6 separate regions of the Homo sapiens genome follow, and regions 2, 3, 4, 5 and 6 are each linked to region 1. The links are contacts of gene promoters, found by promoter capture Hi-C in human tissues and cell types (Jung and others, 2019). All regions are on one chromosome and are shown on one strand. Each heading gives the region's core, a stretch centred on a gene start or on the middle of the fragment in contact. The rest is flanking DNA. Distances are from core to core; before and after follow the strand shown.

What was found. Contacts are between HindIII fragments. The study calls those that stand out against the background at their distance.
Region 2: a fragment that was not itself captured here is called in contact with the fragment with the promoter of INTS1 in region 1 in 2 of the 25 tissues and cell types used here (dorsolateral prefrontal cortex and spleen).
Region 3: a fragment that was not itself captured here is called in contact with the fragment with the promoter of INTS1 in region 1 in 4 of the 25 tissues and cell types used here (H1 embryonic stem cells, heart left ventricle, lymphoblastoid cells and 1 more).
Region 4: a contact is called between a fragment that was not itself captured here and the fragment with the promoter of INTS1 in region 1, in 2 of the 25 tissues and cell types used here (lymphoblastoid cells and spleen).
Region 5: the fragment with the promoter of COX19 here is called in contact with the fragment with the promoter of INTS1 in region 1 in 4 of the 25 tissues and cell types used here (H1 embryonic stem cells, hippocampus, lymphoblastoid cells and 1 more).
Region 6: a fragment that was not itself captured here is called in contact with the fragment with the promoter of INTS1 in region 1 in 1 of the 25 tissues and cell types used here (dorsolateral prefrontal cortex).

Annotation. Positions count from the first base shown.
Region 1 is chr7:1,502,661-1,505,887 of GRCh38, reverse strand. INTS1 (integrator complex subunit 1) reads left to right here and starts at 1,499. Exons shown (of 48, transcript NM_001080453.3): 1 at 1,499-1,565; 2 at 1,887-1,985; 3 at 2,697-2,987. The coding sequence starts at 1,928. RefSeq lists enhancers at 1-185, 1-407 and a silencer at 1,294-1,853. The HindIII fragment of the contact is 17,901 bases long and covers 1-3,227 here.
Region 2 is chr7:2,299,443-2,302,359 of GRCh38, reverse strand. All of the region lies in intron 1 of SNX8 (sorting nexin 8), which reads left to right. Among named protein-coding and RNA genes, the nearest start is that of SNX8, 14 kb to the left of the region's middle. RefSeq lists enhancers at 1-113, 616-1,116, 1,117-1,166. The HindIII fragment of the contact is 3,285 bases long and covers 1-2,917 here.
Region 3 is chr7:2,035,765-2,039,100 of GRCh38, reverse strand. The region is part of intron 12 of MAD1L1 (mitotic arrest deficient 1 like 1); the gene reads left to right. Among named protein-coding and RNA genes, the nearest start is that of SNORA114, 52 kb to the left of the region's middle. The HindIII fragment of the contact is 3,001 bases long and covers 1-2,800 here.
Region 4 is chr7:2,321,850-2,325,014 of GRCh38, reverse strand. It overlaps a transcript of SNX8 not described here. Among named protein-coding and RNA genes, the nearest start is that of SNX8, 9.0 kb to the right of the region's middle. The HindIII fragment of the contact is 5,349 bases long and covers 1-3,165 here.
Region 5 is chr7:974,068-977,191 of GRCh38, reverse strand. COX19 (cytochrome c oxidase assembly factor COX19) reads left to right here and starts at 1,643. Exons shown (of 3, transcript NM_001031617.3): 1 at 1,643-1,764. The coding sequence starts at 1,683. RefSeq lists enhancers at 657-1,537, 2,169-2,238, 1,538-2,420 and silencers at 1,469-1,748, 1,769-1,928. The HindIII fragment of the contact is 7,753 bases long and covers 1-3,124 here.
Region 6 is chr7:2,151,997-2,155,250 of GRCh38, reverse strand. All of the region lies in intron 10 of MAD1L1 (mitotic arrest deficient 1 like 1), which reads left to right. Among named protein-coding and RNA genes, the nearest start is that of SNORA114, 65 kb to the right of the region's middle. The HindIII fragment of the contact is 4,469 bases long and covers 1-3,254 here.

The DNA.
Region 1 (3,227 bases), core at 250-2,749:
CGAGTCAGTGCCCTGCTGGGAACAGATCTCCAAGATGTGGTTAAGTGGCAAAAGCCAGGTGCAGAAAAGAGGAGCCGTGCGCTACCTGCAGGGTGACAAGGCAGAGGGAGGCACACGGGTGGCTGCCTGAACGCACACGGAAAAGCCGGGAACACAGGCACAAATCAGAACACAGGCTGACTCCAGGGGAGGGGACCAGCTGCTCAGGGGTCAGGGGAGACCTTCGACCCTTTGACTGGATGATTCCCCCACCTTTTATTTTTATTTTTTTTTAGACAGGGTCTCGCTCTGTCGGCCGGCTGCAGCGTAGTGGCACCATCATAGCTTACTGCAGCCTTGACCTCCCAAGCTGAAGAGATCCTCCTACCTCAGCCTCCTCAGTAGCTGGGACCGTAGGCATGCACCACCATGCCTGGCTAATTTATTCTTGATTTTTGTTTGTAGAGATAGGGTCTCACTATGTTGCCCAGGCTGGTCTCAGACTCCCACTTTGGCCTCCCAAAGGGCTGGGATTAGAGGTTCATGCCACCATGCCCAGCTAATTTTTATTTTTTTGTAGAGATGGGGGTCTTGCTATGTTGCTCAGGCTGGTCTCGAACTCAACCGATCCTCCTGCCTTGGTCTCCCAAAGTGCTGAGATTACAGGCATGAGCATCACACCTGGCAACTGTATGATCTTTTGTGTCTTTTGAGTTTTGTTCCCATCAGTGTTTCCATTAAAAAAAAAAAAAAAAAGGCGTGGGGGCGGGGCGGGCGCAGTAATTCCAGCACTTTGGGAGGCCAAGGCGGGCGGACCACCTGAGGTCAGGAGTTCGAGACCAGCCTGGCCAACATGGTGAAACCCCGTCTCTACTAAAAACACAAAAAAATTAGCCAGACATGGTGGCGGGCGCCTGTAATCCCAGCTACTCGGGAGACTGAGGCAGGAGAATCGCTTGAACCTGGGAGGTGGAGGTTGCAATAAGCCGAGGTCGCGCCACTGCATTCCAGCCTGGGCGACAGAGCGAGACTCCGTGCCAAAAAAAAAAAGAAAAAAGAAAAGGGTGAACTTTGTGGAACACGAGTTCTATCTCAATAAAGCTATTATTATTATTATTATTATTATTTGAGACAGGGTCTCTCCCCGGGAGCCCCCCGGGCTGCGCCCCCTCGCCAGTGCCTGCGCCCCGGCCGCCCCCGCTCTCCGGGACGTGCAGAACCTGCCACTTGACTCATCCGCGGATCCCTGACGCCACTCCTCCCCGCCGTGCGTCCTGGAGTGCGTCCCTTCGCAACGCCAGCACCACCTGTGAATGGAGAGGCCAGCGCCTGCCCCGCGCCGCCGACCCACCTGGACCGGACCACATGCGCGCGGCGCCGGCCAGCCCGCCTCCCGCCGCCATGGGGCGCTGCAGGCATCAGGCCGGCGCCGCGGGCCTCTCGCGCCTCCTTCTGGGCCCGCTTCCCGCCGCACTGTTTTCCTTCCGGTTGTTCCGGAAGTCGGGTCCTCGAGGGCGGTGAGATCGGTTTCCGATTCCGGGGTGGCCGGGTGGCGGCGGCGGCGCTCCGGTCGCGATGGGCCAGAGGTAAGTGAGCCGCGGCCTGGGCGCTTCCTCATTGCCGGGCGAGCGCCTGGTTCTCCCGGCTACCGCTCCCGGCCTCTGGGCCGTCCCTTCTGGTTCTGCCGCCTCCAGCCCGGCGTCCGCGTCGCCTGCTGCCGCCCGACTGAGCCGCTCCCGGGCGGCTGGGAGGCGGGGTCCCTGCAGCTCCTGCAGCATCGCCCCGCCGGGCGGGCGCGGGACCACTGTCCCCGGGTCCCAGGCCCAAGCCCCGTGCGGCAAGGGAGCGAATGAGCGAGCGAACGAGCGAATGAGTGAAGGAATGACCGCACGCTGGCTCCTCCGCAGGTGACGCCGCAGCCGCCGGGAGCCGCGAGGGACGGGGCAGGATGAACCGGGCCAAGCCCACCACGGTGCGCCGGCCCAGCGCCGCGGCCAAACCCTCAGGTGCGTCTCCCTCCTCGCTCTGCAGCCCGGGGGTCTTTGGGGGTCTTTGGGGGTCTTTGGGGATCTCAGCTGCCGCGGATCCTGCGTTGGGCTTGGTTGTTCCGCAGCCGCGGCTGTTTCCAGGAATTCGGTCTGGAAACACTGCTCTCGGTCCTCAGCGGCTCTGAGAGTCCCTGGGAGGCTTGGGACAGTGGCGACTTCCTTCGGGACCCCGGTGATCTCGTTTCAGGCTGAGCTGCAAGGCGGCCGACAGTAGCGGAAGGTCTCCCCAGCCAGGAGGCGGGAGGCAGCACAGTGTAGCGTAGCACGGGGTCTGCGGCTGAACTGTCGGCTCAGATCCTCCGGACTTTGCCACTCGCCTGCTGTGTGACGCTGGGCACGTCGCTTAACCTCTCTGTGTCCCTTTCTCTCTTGTAAAGTTAGAGTAATAGCACCTATTGCGGAAACTCGGGGCGGGGGTTACTAAGCACACTAATTTGGATAGACCAGAGATGGCCTGGTTTGTGGTTAGCGCTACGTGACTGTCCACCATCACCTGTGCGTATCCTGCTGGTCCCAGCTCTGCTGTAGGCTGCTGAGTGAGCTCTGGCTTCTTCCTTGCCTCCTCTGACCCTTGTTTAATCCCCTCTGACATAACAGGAGGTTAGAGTCAGTCTTTTTCCATCTTGGGTGTTGCAAATGTGCCCGGTTTTCTCTCTCCTTTCTCTGCAGGGCACCCTCCCCCAGGAGACTTCATTGCTCTGGGCTCAAAGGGTCAGGCCAATGAATCGAAAACGGCGTCCACCCTGCTGAAGCCAGCCCCTTCCGGCCTGCCTTCTGAGCGCAAGCGGGATGCGGCGGCCGCGTTGTCCAGTGCCTCGGCCCTCACCGGTCTCACCAAACGCCCCAAACTCTCCTCCACACCCCCTCTGAGTGCCCTGGGGCGCCTGGCTGAGGCTGCAGTGGCAGAAAAACGAGCCATTTCTCCGTCGATTAAAGAGCCATCTGTGGTGCCAATTGAAGGTAATGAGTCTGTGGACATCCCCCGAGAACACCCCTCAGCTCATGCCGTCCATCAGGTGTTCAGGGAAGGCCCCCTCCAGGCCTAGTGCTGCCCGTATGGCCGAGGTCCTTTGGGAGAGCGGATGTTTGTGGCTTGTTCTTGGAAGTGCTTCTCACGTAGATGCCCTTATCCCGTGTGTGCATCTGCGTCCTGCACTGCCAGTGGCTGCCCTTTGAGAACCGGGTCACTCCCTTATTGAG
Region 2 (2,917 bases), core at 211-2,710, 800 kb before region 1:
GGCCGAGGCTGGTGGATCACTCACGGTTAGGAGCTGAGACCGGCCTGGCCAACACAGCGAAACCCCGTCTCCACCAAAAAAATACGAAAACCAGTCAGGCGTGGCGGCGCGAGCCTGCAATCGCAGGCACTCGGCAGGCTGAGGCAGGAGAATCAGGCAGGGAGGTTGCAGTGAGCCGAGATGGCAGCAGTACAGTCCAGCTTCGGCTCGGCATCAGAGGGAGACCGTGGAAAGAGAGGGAGAGGGAGACCGTCGGGAGAGGGGAGAGGGTATTTTTTTTTAATAGAGATGAAGTTTCACCGTGTTAGCCAGGATGGTCTCGATCTCTTGACCTGGTGATCTGCCTGCCTCGGCCTCCCAAAGTGCTGGGATTACAGGTGTGAGCCACCGCGCCTGGCCGATCCCCAACTCTTTGAGAGCCTGGACAATGTGCTCTGCATTCTCCTTAGGGTCTGTGTGTGAACTAACAAGCTGAGAAGTAGGTAGTCCTAGCCTCACTTCAGAGATGAGGAAACTGAGGCATACAGAGGTTTGGTAATGAGTTAGGAGACAGAACTCGACGCTGGAGGCAGGGCCTGGATAGCAGTCGAAATTGAGGACTAGCTGAAATAGGTCCAGGGCAGAATCACCTTCCCATAAGACACGCCTGCCAGTGGGCCATGTCAGTTTACCATCACCATGGCAACACGTGGATGCCCTTTTCCATGACAATGACTGGACAACCCGGAATTTACTACCCCCATTCTAGAAATTTCTGCATAAATCACCCCTTAGTTTGCATATAATTAAAAGTAGGTATAAATATGAGTGCAACACTGCCTCTAAGTTGCTGCTCTGGGTGCCCTGGTAAGGGGGTGGTTCTGCTCTGCAAGGAGCAGGACCTCTGTTGCTGCTGTGCGTGCTGCTGCTTCAATAAAAGTTGCTAACACCATCGGCTCAGCCTTGAATTCCTTCCTAGACAAAGCCTAGAAGCCTCTGGGCTAAGCCCGAATTTGGGGGCTGGCCTGCCTTGTATTCATATGCCCATGAGCACACGGCCAATAGGTGGTGGTGCTGGGATTCACACCAGGTGTGGGGCTGCAGCTGGGACATGAGCAGTGTGGCCTGGCCTGTGAGGGTCTCTGTTGGATTTGCGTCTGGCCACGTTAAGCAGCCATTCGTAGGCATGGAGCTTTCCCTCTTCAGATGGTTTTCCTTAGAGGGAGATAGTTGCACAGACCTTTCTCATAAATAACACCCTAGACAATTGTGCTAGGTCCTTTTTATCTTTTCAGAACAGGAATGCACTTTAAAGTTAGGAAACAGGACGTAATGAAAGAGCATGTAAATTCAGAATGCCTGTTGTGAGTGTTGAAGTCATTTTGTGGGAGAATGGTTACTTGTCTCGTTCGAGGTTGGGTTTAAGCTCCACAACAGGGGCTGGGCACAGTGACTCACGCCTGTAATCCCAGCACTTTGGGAGGCCAAGGTAGACAGATCATTTGAGGTCAGGAGTTCGAGAACAGCCTGGCCAACATGGTGAAACCCCGTCTCTACTAAAAATACAAAAATTAGCTGGGCGTGGTGGCATGCGCCTATAATCCTAGCTACTCGGGAGGCTGAGGCAGGAGAATCATTTGAACCCAGGAGGTGGAGGTTGCAGGGAGCCAAGATTGCACCACTGCACTCCAGCCTGGGTGACAAGAATGAAACTCTGTCTCAATAATTTAAAAAAAAAAGAAAAAAAGACCAGCCTGGGCATTACATAGCGAGACCTTTTCTCTACAAAAAAATGAAAAAATTAGCCAGGCATGGTGGTACGTGTCTGTAGTTCCGGTTACTTGGGAGGCTGAGGCAGGAGGATCGCTTGAGCCCAAGAGACTGAGGCTACAGTGAGCTAAGATCGTGCCACTGCACTCCAGCCTAGGTGACAACAGATCAAGACTCTGTCTCCAAAAAAAAGAGAGAAAGCTTTGCAACGTGTCTACTGAAAATATTTAGTTCATTCTGGACAACTGGGTGTAGACAGTCTGTTTCCAGTTGAGTTCAACATAAAATCTCCTTGAATTGTCAGCTCTGAAAAAACAAATCACTTCTTGAATTTTGTGAGGCACAGGCTGAGTTCCCTTAAACGCGTTAAGATAATCTGAGCATCCTGGTTAACCAATCTTGGAGTTTTGGGGTCTGTAAGACACCAGATGAGAGTCCAGCCTTCTGTGCATGGAAAACTAGGTCTTCGTGTTCAGTGCAAATTTAGCCGTGGGGGAAAAACTGACTAAATATTTCTCTTCCTGTGACATTTTTCACAGTTCCTAATTTGTTCTTGCTGACTTCTGAGGCGTTACATTTTCTGGTTGATTAATTGCGTTCCTTGTTGTCTACCCTTAAGGCAGCCAGGAGAAGGAAGTGCGCCTTCTTCCTTGCTGTGCTTGCCATAGATCAATCAAGGTTTGCTGAAATGGATTTAATTGTATCTCACTTGGCCCATTATGCTGGCTGACTGCTTGGAATTTTCTTGGAGGGACCTTATTTGGTGGCCAATGAAGGTTCTTCTCCATTTGGCCTCTATGAGGATCAAGACAGACTTAGCCCCGTCAGATATTTTGGAATCTTTTCACTTTCATGTCAGGAGACCCTAGAAAAAAACCGGAGTCACTTTCAGACCAAACCAACCACCAGCCAGGAGGAGGGTTAAAAAAGAAAACGCAAGAAACCAGGCATGGGTGGCATTTAGTTAAACAGAGACGAGGACTCTTTTTGGAACTCCAAACTCCTACTTGGTAGGTTATTCCAAGATTCCCCCAATTTGCTAAAATAGTATTCCTTTTTAACTCCGGAACAAATCGCTGGGCCTCCCCTCAGATAAACATTCCCGAAATGAGAGACCCGAGAGGTGTTTTGAGGAATGAGCTGAAGTCCAATGGGCCCTTTCAGAAGG
Region 3 (3,336 bases), core at 51-2,550, 530 kb before region 1:
GTTATTAAAAGGCTGAAGTGATAGACAGCCTGTGGATGGCTGCCGTGAGTTACGGAGACGCACAGGAGGAATCGTGGCTGTGAACGGACAACCCGAGGGGTTTTTGTGGTGATGAAATGTGCTGTATCTTGACTGTATCATTGTCGGCATACGGGTTGTGATACTGTGCTGTAGTTGTGCCAGATGTTGCTATTGGGAGGAACTGGATGAATGCTACTTGTGATCTCTGTATTATTTTTTATAGCTCCAAGTGAATCTGTAATTGGATCAAAATAAAAAGCTTAGATCAGGCACAGTAGCTGATGCATGGAATCCCAGCACTTTGAGAGGTCGAGGTGGGCGGATCACTTGAGGTCAGCAGGAGTTCGAGACCATCCTGGCCAGCATGGTGAAACCCTGTCTCTACTAAAAATACAAAAAATTAGTGAGGCGTGGTGGCACACACTTGTAATCCCGGCTACTTGGGAGGCTGAGGCAGGAGAATTGCTTGAACCCAGAAGGCGGAGGTTGCAGTGAGCCAAGATTGTGCCACCGTGCTCCAGCCTGGGTGACAGAATGAGTGAGACTGTGTCTCAAAAAAAAAAAAAAAAAAAAAAAAAAAAGTCATCAGCTTCATTATCTCCTAACAGCATCAGCTTGTCCTCTGAAACTTTGAAGGCAGGGATCGACTTCTCCTCTGTAACTGTAAAAGCCCTAGACGGCATCTTCCAGCAGAAGGCTGTTTTATGTGCACTGCAAATCTGGTGTTTAGTGTGGCCACCTTCATTGGTGCTCTTAGCTGGATCTTCTGGAGAACTTGCTGCAGCTTCTCCGTCAGCACTTGCGGCTTCACCTTGTACTTTTATGTGATGGGGACTGCCTCTTAATGTAAACCTCATGAACCCACCTCTGCTAGCTTCAGACTTGAATTCTGCAGCTTTCCCACCTCTCTCAGCCTCGTGGAACTTGCTCTGACTTAAGGGAATGTTGGGGCTGGTTTGATCTATCCAGACCACTCAGACTTCTCCGTATCAGCAATAAGACAGTTTCACTTTCTTATCGTTGGTGTGTTCAGTGGAGCAGCACTTTTAATTTCCTCCAAGAACTTTCCCTTTGCATTCACAACTTGGCGAGCTGTTTGGCACGAGAGGCCTGGCTTTCGGCTTATCTTTGCTTTTGGCACGCCTTCCTCACTAAGCTTAATCCTTTCTAGCTTTTGGTTTAAAGGAGAGACATGCGACTCTTCCTTTCTCTTGAATGCTTAGAGGCTGTTGTAGGGTTATTAATTGGCCTGATTTTAATACTGTTGTGTCGCCCAGGGAATAGAGAGGCCCAAGGAGAGGGAGGGAGGGAGATGGCTGGTCAGTGAAGCAGCCAGACACAAGCAGCGTTGGTCGGTGAAGCTTTTGCCGTCTGAGGAGCATAGTGTGTGGCGTCCCAGAATCAATGACAGCAGTAAGATCGGAGACCGCCGATCACAGACCACAACAGACATAACAGTGATGCAATGTCGGAAGTACAGTCAGGACGTGGCGCCCCAGAATCAATGACAGTAGTAAGATCAGAGACCACCCATTACAGACCACAACAGATATAATAGTGATACAATGTCTGAAACGCCATGAGGATTACCAGATGTGACAGAGCCGTGTAGGGAGCACATGCTGTTGGGAACATGGTGCCTCGCCGAAGGCAGGACGGCCACAAGCCTTCCATTTGTAAGAAGCACAGTATCTGTGTAGTCCAGGAGAGCAAGGCGTGCCTGGGTCCATGCTGGCTCCTTATTGTGGCCAGCACACTGTGCTCGTGTAAGATGTTAACAGTGGGGCACCTGGGTGTGGAATATGTGAAAAGTCTCTACCATCTTCTCCATTCTTCTAAATCTAAACCCGTTCTAAAAAAAAAAAAAAAAAAGAAGAGTCTATTAAGAAGACAAAGAAGGAGCCGAAATTTCCACGTGGCAGAAGGCACTGGAACCGGTGAGATCTGATGTGTACCTGGGCCTGATCCACGTTTGCTGCATGGCTGGACACCTTCGTGGGCGCGTGGAAGCTCATGCTGTGGGGGGAGCTGTGGGAGGAGCATGCGGCAGGTGGAGGTCTTCTGCGCGTGGGTGGGCACGCGGAAGCTCGTGCTGTGGGGGGAGCTGTGGGAGGAGTGCTGGAGGAGCCCTGGGAGGAGTGTTCAGGAGGCGGAGCGTGCCTCGTGCGCGTTGGTGGGTATGAGTGGCGTTGGTGGGATCTAGCTGACCACCTCCCACCTGGTTGGTCTGCATCTGTAGACAGCTTAGTTCTTAGGATTCTAGGTACCCAGTGTCATTTCCGACACCTGCTTGGGCTCCCTGTACTGCCAGGGCTGTTGAGTCTTTACAGCACCTCTGATCAGGAGCCCTGGCCTTGGGGAGGTGGGACAGGCACACGTCTGGGTTGCTGGGTTGCCTTTAGGGGTAAGCTCTTCCTTTTGTCTTCTGTTCAAAAGAGGGCCCACAGTGGATTCAGGCCTCTGATTTACCACTGCCTGGAGCTTGGGGAATGCTCTCCAGTGACAACCTGGGCTTCCGTGGGATTTAATTTTGATATATTGGCCTTTGTGTGTAGGAAGAGTCCAAACTCACGACCGGATGGATTGTCCTCCTCAGACTAGACACTTCATCCAGAGAGGACTCTGAGCCAACCCTAAGGGATTCAGGCTGGAGCTCTGGTTCCCCGCACGGAGGTGGCGCAGGAATGCATCGTCCTCCCCTGTCCTGACTTGTCAGCGCTCCTGCGCTCATGCCTGGGAGCCTGGACCCCAGCTCTGTCCCGACTTGTCAGTGCTCCCGCGCTCATGCCTGGGAGCCTGGACCCCAGCTCTGTCCCGACTTGTCAGTGCTCCCGCGCTCATGCCTGGGAGCCTGGACCCCAGCTCTGTCCCGACTTGTCAGTGCTCCCGCGCTCATGCCTGGGAGCCTGGACCCCAGCTCTGTCCCCACTTGTCAGTGCTCCCGCGCTCATGCCTGGGAGCCTGGACCCCAGCTCTGTCCCAACTTGTCAGTGCTCCCGCGCTCATGCCTGGGAGCCTGGACCCCAGCTCTGTCCCGACTTGTCAGTGCTCCCGCGCTCATGCCTGGGAGCCTGGACCCCAGCTCTGTCCCGACTTGTCAGTGCTCCCGCGCTCATGCCTGGGAGCCTGGACCCCAGCTCTGTCCCGACTTGTCAGTGCTCCCGCGCTCATGCCTGGGAGCCTGGACCCCAGCTCTGTCCCGACTTGTCAGTGCTCCCGCGCTCATGCCTGGGAGCCTGGACCCCAGCTCTGTCCCGACTTGTCAGTGCTCCCGCGCTCATGCCTGGGAGCCTGGACCCCAGCTCTGTCCCGACT
Region 4 (3,165 bases), core at 401-2,900, 820 kb before region 1:
AAAAATAAATAGCCTGTAGCTGGGACTACAGGCGTGTGCCACCATGCCTGGCTACATGGCCAATGCCTGCAGTCCCAGCTACGCAGCAGGCTGAGGAAGGAGGATCTCTTGTACCCAGGAGACGGAGGCTGCAGTGAGCCATGATCCTACCACTGCACTCCGGCCTGGGTGTGATAGCAAGACCCTGTCTCAAAAAATTAAAAAAAGGAAGAGTGTTGAGAAGAAATTGGTAGCTTTATAACACAGGGCAAATGCCCACAAGGGTTGTGAGAATGGTGTCTTGCAGCCTAGGCTAGGATCTCAGCTCTGGGATCTTAGGGTGTTGAACTTTTCTGGTCTTGGTTGCCTGCAAAGTACTGATCATACCACTTCCTAAATTTTTTTTATTCTTAGTTTATTTTTATTTTTATTTTTTTGAAAAATAGGTCAGTCACAGTGGCTCACTCTTGTAATCCTAGCACTTTAGGAGGCTGAGGTGGGCAGATTGCCTGAGCTCAGGAGTTCGAGACCACCCTGGGCAACATGGTGAAACCCTGTCTCTACTAAAATACAAAAAATTAGCCAGGCGTGGTGGCGCATGCCTGTAATCCCAGCTACTTGGGAGGCTGAGGCAGGAGAATTGTTTGAACCTGGGAGGTGGAGGTTGTAGTGAGCCAAGATCACACCACTGCACTCTAGCCTGGACGACACAGTGAAACTCTGTCTCAAAAAAAAAAAAAAAGAAAGAAAGAAAATAGAGATGGGGTGTCACTACGTTGCCCAGGCTGGTTTTGAATTCCTGGGCTCAAGTAACCCTCCTGCCTTGGCCTCTCAAAGTGCTATGATTACAGACGTGAGCCACTGCCCCCGGCCAGGATGAGATACATTCTTTTTTTATAAATTCTTTTTTTTTTGAGATGGAGTCTTGCCCTTGCCACCCCAGGCTGGAGTACAGTGGCGTGATCTCAGCTCACTGCAACCTCTGCCTCCCAGGTTCAAGCGATTATCCTGCCTCAGCCTCCCAAGTAGCTGGGACTAGAAGCATGCACCACCATGCCCAGCTTATTTTTGTATTTTTAGTAGAGACGGGGTTTTACCATGTTGGCTAGGCTGGTCTCGAACTCTTGATCTCAGGTGATCCACCTGAGGTTGCAGTGAGCCGAGATGGTGCCACTGCACTCAAGCCTGGGCAACAGAGCAAGAGTCGGTCTCAAAACAAAAACAAAAAACCAAGAAGACTCAGTTCCTAGTACGCATTCAATACGTGTTAGCGTGGTTAGTGTTTGGTGCTGTCCTGGCTTCTGGCGTGCCAGGCACGTGGTAGTACTGCACTTCTGGTCCTTCTGAGGTTGAGCGAGACCACATCACTGGTCCTGGCCAATGCGTTGTGAACAGCAATGAGTCTTACTTCTGGGCCATATCATTTAGCGGCTCCTGCAGCATCCTCCAGATCCTTTCTCTCTGTTAACATGGCAGAAATGCAGGATGGTGGCCGCTCTGTGATCCTGGGTCTCTGCATGCCGGTGACAGACATGAACCCCTTTGTGACTTTAAGCCTCTGGGATTTGAGATTGTTACTGCAGCATGATATAGCCTATCCTAAACAACTCATTAGCCATTATTAGTATTTCTAAGATACGCTAAACAATGCATTACCCATTATTAGTTTTTTTGTTTGTTTGGTTGTTTTTTTTTTTTTTTTTTTTGAGACAGACTCTCACTCTGTCGCCCTGGCTGGAGGGCAGTGGCACAATCTCAGCTCACTGCAACCTCCACCCCCAAAGTTCAAGCGATTTTCATGCCTCAGCTTCCCGAGCAGATGGGATTACAGGCACCTGCCATCATGTCCAGCTAATTTTTGTATTTTTAGTAGGAATGGGGTTTCACCGTATTGGCCGGGCTGGTCTAGAACTCCTGACCTCAGATGATCCACTGGCCTTGGCCTCCCAAAGTGCTGGGATTACAGGTGTAAGCCACCATGCCTGGCCCACACCATTTATTTATTTATTTATTTATTTAGAGACAGAGTCTTGTTCTGTTGCCCAGGCTGGAGTGCAGCAGCAAGATCTCGGCTTACTGCAACCTCTGCCTCCCAGGTTCAAGTAATTCTCTTGCTTCAGCTTCCCGAGTAGCTGGGATAACAGGTGCCCACCACCACGCCCGGATTTTTTTTTTATTTTTAGTAGAGACAGGGTTTCACCATGTTGCCCAGGCTGGTCTTGAACTCCTGGCCACAGGTGATCCACATACTTCAGCCTCCCAAAGTGCTGGGATTACAGGCGTGACCCATAGCACCTGGCCTACAGCATTTATTTTATTTTATTCTATTTTATTTTACTTTTGAGATGGAGTCTCAATCTGTCACCCAGGCTGGAGTGCAGTGGCGCGATTATGGCTCACTGCAACATCCACCTCCTGGGTTCAAGCGATTCTCCTGCCTCAGCCTCCCGAGTAGCTGGGATTACAGGCGTGCGCCACCACACCAAGTTAATTTTGTATTTTTAGTAGAGATGGGGTTTCATCATGTTAGCCAGGCTGATCTCGAACCCCTGACCTCAGGTGATCCACCCGCCTTGGCCTCCCAAAGTGCTGGGATTACAGGTGTGAGCCACGGCGCCCAGCCAGCATTTATTTTTAAGTGATGGGGTCTTGCTCTGTGGCCCAGGCTGGAATACGGTGGCACAATCATAGCTCACTGTAGCTTCCACCTCCTGGACTGAAGCACTTCTCCTGCCTTGGCCTCCCAAAGCACTGCAATTATAGGCGTGAGCCACCACACCAGCATTTTAGTAACTGTTTCTGAAAGGTCCTTAGCAGGTCCTTTCTGCACGTCCTCCTGTGTAGTTAAATTCTGACTCCGATGCTCTGCATGCTAAGTTCTGTCCATTTGCCCAGCTAGTTCCCATTTTCCTAAATGAAAAGCACTACATGTGAATCAAAAAAACAGATTAACCATCGTGATATAACTGGGTTCTTGCTACTAAGCAAAATGTTTTAGAATTGAGAAATTCGAGGCCGGGCGCAGTGGCTCACGCCTATAATCCCAGCACTTTGGGAGGCTTAGGCGGCAGATCACCTGAGGCCAGGAGTTCGAGACCAGTTTGGCCAATATGGTGAAAGCTTGTCTCTACTAAAAATACGAAAATTAGCTGGACATGGTGGCGGGCGCCTGTAATCCCAGCTACT
Region 5 (3,124 bases), core at 394-2,893, 530 kb after region 1:
TGACAACATCGACACGCAAAGGCCGGGCCTTACCGCTTACAGTACACTTTCATTCTGCCCTAGGTTGAGCTGTAACTACCCTCCACCCCCATTCGTATGGTGAAGCCACTAGGACCTTAGGATGTGACCTTTGCTTTGGAAATAGGTGCCAGGTGCGGCGGCTCACGCCTGTCATCCCAGCCCTTTGGGAGGCTGAAGTGGGCGGATCACTTAAGGTCAGGAGTTCGAGACCAGCCTGGGCAACATGGTGAAACCCCGTCTCTACGAAAAGTACAAAAAATTAGCCGGGTGTGGTGGCGCATGCCTGTAATCCCAGCTACTCTGGAGGCTGAGGCAGGAGAATCTCTTGAACTCGGGAAGTGGAGGTTGCGGTGAGCCGAGATCGTACCACTGCACGCCCGTCTAGGTTACAAAGTGAGACTCTGTGTTGAAAAAAAATATATTAGCTTAGCTGGGTGTGTTGGTGGCGCCTGTAATCCCAGCTACTCGGGAGGCTGAGGCAGGAGAATTGCTTTAACCTGGGAGGTGGAGGTTGCAATGAGCCAGGATCGAGCCACTGTACTCCAGCCTGGGCAACAAGAGAGAGACTCCGTTTTAAAAAACAAAACAAAGAAATAGGGTTGCTGCTGATATAATTAGTTAAGATGAAGTTATTGGGACGGCCCCTAACCCAACATGACTGCTATCCTTATAAAAAGAGGAAATTTAGGTTGGGCATGGTGGCTCATGCCTATAATCCCGGCATTTAGGGAGGCTGAGGCAGGAGGATTGCCTGAGCCCAGGAGTTAAGGACCAGCCTGGGCAACATAGGGAGACTCCATCTCTACGAAAAATAGAAAAATTAGCCTGGTGTGGTGGTGTGTGCCTGTGGTCGCAGCTACTCAGGAGGCTGGGGTGAGAGGATCGCTGAGCCCAGGAGGTCGAGGCTGCAGTGAGTCGTGATCATGCCACTGCACTCTAGTCTGGGCAACAGAGCAATACCCTGTCTCAAATAAATAAATAAAAATAGTAAATTTGGACATGCGCAGGACACCATGGGAACGTAGGGGCCGAGACCAGGTGGTGCTTCTGCAAGCCAAGGAACCTCACAGGCTGGCGGCCCCCAGAAGCTGGGAGGCTGGGACTGTCCCCAGGGCCCCCACTCTGCCCACTGCTTGGACTCCAGACCCCAGGACTGAGAGCACATTCCTGTTGTTGAAGCTGCTCGGTGGTGTCACCTGGCTCCAGCAGCCGCAGGCAGCGAGTCCACAGGCTCTCCTGTCCCTCCTGTGCCGCCTTCCTCCCCGGATGGGCCCCGTGATGAGGTCTCTGTGCGATGGGGAAACCGAGGCCCCAGCAGACACCTGGGATGCAGAGACGCCGGCACCGCTATGTGTCCTCGGGCAATTCGCTGAACCTTTCTGGGCCTCGGTTTCTCACCAATTCCAAAAGCTGATTCTGCTACCGACTGCTGTGAGGGTCCCAGGGGACGGGAAAGCCCGGGCAGCGCCCACCGGGGCTCAGGAGCTTGCTGACTCCGAGGGGGTGGGGCCGGGCCTGGGCAAGGGGTGGGGCCGGGCCTGGGCAAGGGGCGGGGACGGGGCCTGCTCGACGTGCTCGGCGCTCCCGGGGTGCCTGCTCGGCGCTCCGCCGGCCGCCCTGCGTACGCTCGCAAGGCGCTCGCAGACTCCGGAGTCGCCAACATGTCGACCGCCATGAATTTCGGGACCAAGAGCTTCCAGCCGCGGCCCCCGGACAAGGGCAGCTTCCCGCTGGATCACTTAGGTGAGCGGCGGAAGGTCGGCGGGCAGGGGTCTGCGATGGGGGGTCTGGGTCGCGGCCCAGCGCGGAGCCCTATGGGGTGCCGGCATCTAGCGCGGTGCAGGCGGGGAAACTGAGGCACGGCGGCCCGCCCCTCCGCCCCACCCAGCCCTGGGTCACTGCTGCGGCATGGACCCTGCAGGTGGGAGCTGGCAGGACCGTGGCCCCCGTGACGAGGGCAGCGACACCGACTCCTTGCGTCAGGCTTCCGGGTCTCCGGCTCCGCCCTGACTCACCCGGCGGGCTGTCTGTGCCCCGGGTTTGCAGAGCGGGGCATTCGGCGGCCACGAAGCCCGCAGCTGCAGCCGAGGCTTAGACGGTGCCTAGCGATGTCTGCTGCAAAGCTCAAAAGTGCTGCTGATCTCCCAGTGCTTCTGGCCGTATTCCGGTGGGGTTGCCTCCGTGGACATGAAGGCTTCGAAAAAGGATCTGTGGGCCGGGCGCGGTGGCTCATGCCTGTGATCCCAGCCCTTTGGGAGGCCGAGGTGGGCGGATCATTTAAGATCAGGAGTTCGAGACCAGCCTGCCCAACATGGGGAAACCCCGTCTCTACTAAAAATACAAAAATTAGTTGGGTGTGATGTGGCTCGCCTGTAGTCCCAGCTACTCGGGAGGCTGAGGCAGGAGAATCGCTTGAACCGGGAGACGGAGGTTGCAGTGAGCCGAGATCGGGCCACTGCACTGCAGCTTGGGCGACAGAGTGAGACAACGTCTCAAAAAAAAAAAGAAAGAAAAGAAAAGAAAAACGATCTGTGAATTACTGTTTCTTTCCCAACATTTTATTGTGACATTTTCAAATAGCAAAAATGAAAGAATTTTTACCCTGAACTCTCCTGTGACCATCACCTACATTGCACCTTAACCTCGTACTGGGCTGACTTTACCTCGTTGTGGGTTTTTTCCATTGTTGTTTTCAGCATGTTTATGAAGGAAACAAGTTTGGGTTTGATTGTTTTTGTTTTGAGACACGGTCTCACTCTGTTGCTTAGGCTGGAGTGCAGTGGTGCAATCATAGCTCACTGAAGCCTCGGCCTCCTTCCTTTCTGGACTCAGGGGAGTCTCCCGTCTCATCCTCTAGAGTAGCTGGGACTATAGGTGTGCAGCGCCACACCCAGCTAATTTTTTTTTTTTTTTTTTTTTTAGAGATGGGGTTTCCCCATGTTGCCCAGGCTGGATTATTTATTTATTTATTTTTGAAATGGACTCTCACTGTGTCGCCCAGGCTGGAGTGCAGTGGTGTGATCTCGACTCACTGCAACCTCCTCCTCCCGGGTTCAAGCGATTCTCCTGTCTCAGCCTCTAGAGTAGCTGGGACTATAGGTGT
Region 6 (3,254 bases), core at 421-2,920, 650 kb before region 1:
TTGTCTTGGGTTTCCTCAGGATGTCCTCTTGGAAGAGCGTGGCAGGTCAGCAGGTCAGGCCTGAGGACCCCCCTTTGCTCGCTCTCTTAGCCTCGTCCTTTTGGAGGGTCCAGTCTTCCTCAGGTAGCAAGCCTTCTTGCCAGGCCACAGAAGCCCCAAGCCGGAGGAGCGGCTCTCCGGCTCCCGTGCTGCTTCTCCGTGCAAGCCTCTCTGAGAGCTCACAGTCCACCCCTGTGGACTCCTCCGCGTGCCCAGAGCCTCCTGGGCTCCTCCTCCCCACCCCGCTTGGTTCAAGGGTATGTCCTTTACTCCAGATGGTGGCCTCCGTCCTTCTCCACAGGCTGCTGTTAATACGAGAAGAGGGCGCCGGAATGCTTCCTGTAGAGTTCAGGAGGTGACCTCCTGACCCGTTTGATCGGATTCCACCTTGTTCTTGATGGGACCTCCTTTGTGGCCTCAGAAATGTCCACATGTTGGCAAAACCATTTCATCTTTTCTTTTTCTGATATGGAGTGCTCTGAAACCATTGCCTTAAACCCATTCTGTTTCCACTAGCTAAAGCTCATACACTTCATCCCCAGAGAGCCCATTTTCTTTTATTTATTTATTTACCATTTATTTATTTTTATACATAATATTTTACATATTTATGGAGTACCTGTGATATTTTCTTACGTGCACAGAATGTGGAATGGGCAAGTTTAGGGTATTTGGGGTAACCATCACTTTGAGTATTTATCATTTCCACGTATTGGGAAAAATTCTGGTTCTCTTCTAGCTACTTTGAATTATACAATACACTGTTAACTCTAGTCACCCTCCTCTTCTGTGGAACAACTGAATTTATACCTTTCATCTAACTGTATGTTCGTACCCATTAACTCAACTCTCTTCATCTGTGGTTCCGCTCACCCAGACCTTTCAATCCACTAGTTCCTGTCATTCTACTCTCTGCCTTTAGGAGGTGAATTTCCACAGCTCCCATGAGTGAAGACGTGCAGTTTCTTTCTGTTCCTGGTGGTTTCACCTGACACGGTCACCTCCCATTCCAGCCACGTTGTTACAAATGACAGGCTCTCATTCTTTCTTTTTTTTTGAGATGGAGTCTTGCTCTGTTGCCAGGCTGGAGTGCAGTGGCGTCATCTTGGCTCACTACAACCTCTGACTCCCTGGTTCAAGTGATTCTCCTGCCTCAGCCTCCTGAGTAGCTGGGATTACAGGCGTGTGCCACCACGCCTGGCTAATTTTTGTATTTTTAGTAGAGATGGAGTTTCACCATGTTGGCCGGGCTGGTCTCGAACTCCTGACCTCCTGATCCACCTGCCTCGGCCTCCCAAAGCGGTGGGATTACAGGCGTGAGCCACCGCGCTCGGCCCAGCTCTTGTTCTTTCTTACGGCCGGATAGCATTCCACTGTGTGTACATCCCCATTTTCTTTATCCATTCGTCTGTCGATAGACACAGGTTAATTCCGTATCTTTGCCATCTTTGCTGTGATAAACATGGGAATGCAGGTATCTTTTTGATACAGTGATTTCCTTTGAGTAAATACCCAGTGGTGGGATTGCTGGATCATGTGGTGGTGTTCTGTTTTCAGCTTTTTGAGAAATCTCCATACTGGGTTCCATAGCGGTGGTACTAATTTACATTCCTTCCAACAGCAGCTGAGAGTTCCCTTTCCTCTGCATCCTCACCAGCATCTGTCTGTGTGTTTTTTGGTCTGTTTATTAGCCATTTTAAGCTGAGGTAAGGTGGTATCTCATTGTGGTTTTGATTTGCAATTCCCCCGATGATTAGTGATGTTGACCATTTTTTCATATACCTGTTGGCCATTTGCATGTCATCCTTTGAGAAATGTCTCTTTGTGTCCTTTGCCTACTTTTTCGTGGGATTATTTATGTTTTTTTAATTGTTGTTATTTGAGTTTCTTTTGAGTTGTATTTTGGATGTTAGTCCCTTATTGGCCGAAGAGTTGACAGATATTTTCCTGCATTCAAGAGGCTGTCTCTTCACTCTGTTGATTGTTTTCTTGGATGGGCAGAAGCTTTTTACTTTGATGTAGTCCCATTTGTCTATTTTTGTTTTTGTTGCCTGTGCTTTTGAGGTCTTAGCTATAAAATCTTTGCCTAGACCAATGTCCTGAAGTGTTTTCCTTGTTTTCTTTAGTATTTTTTATATTTTTGGGTCTTAGGTTTCAGCCTGTAATCCATCTCCAGTTGATTTTTGTATATGGGGAACACATTTTCTTTTGATTGACACTGCCGAACAAAGGGTATACAAAATTTCACAACTTTTAACATGCTGGTTGATGATTGTACTTGAAGTGTTTTCTCCTCATGTCCCCGGCGACATCCAGACACCGCCTCCACGGTGCATGTCCTCTCCCGGCCTCCCAATGCCAGTGTGAAAATGGGCTTGGATTGCACACCCTGAAAACAGCCTCCAGCCTCCCTGTCCCTTCCACATCCATAAAGTTAACGGCATAGGGATTGTCAGGTAATAGCAGTGCACTGTACCTGTGCCGTAGGGTTTTGGAAGTGAGCCTTAGGAAGCCCAGCCGAGCAGGTAGGGAGTTGAGCCTGGAGGGGTCAGGGCTGGGGCTGAGACCCAGGTTTTCTCCCATGGGTCCATCTCCTTTTCCTTTAAGGATGTCCTGGCCTTCCCTCTGTCTCTGCAAGTAGAGTAGACTGGTCCCGTGTGACGTTCTTGAAGGCTGTCATCGAGCTCACTGTGCTTGTGCTTTTGAGTGGAAGCTGAACCCTGGTCATGAGCAAGAATGGCCAGACAGGGCTCGTGAGGCTTGGTTTAGCCAAAGTGGTGACTGCGGGTTTTTCAGCGCAAGAGGCTGCGAAGGGAGGGATTCCTTCTGGTGCCCCTGTGCCCTCCAGCGGCTTCTGCCCGTGGGAGGTGTTGGGCACGGCTGCCCCTGTGGTTGGAGGGCTCTGGAATAGCAAGCCCTGCAGCTTCAGTCCTCCCTATGATGGGGGCCTGGTCGCATGGGGACTGAGAGCCGGCAGGGATCTGGGGGCCTAGGGATGTGGCCAGCAAGTATCCAGGCTGAGAGCCCATCACGTGACAGTGCTCCCGAGGGCTGGGGTCTGTGTGGGACCATCCGCCTCAGGCGCCAGCCTTCTGCCTCAGGGCAAGCCATGCTCTCTGTTCCTGCCTGGGGCAGGACAACTCCAGGTCACACCCACCTCAGGCAAGGAGGAGCGTGCAGGGGAGCCACCCGGAAGCAGCCTCCTGCAGAGTCGG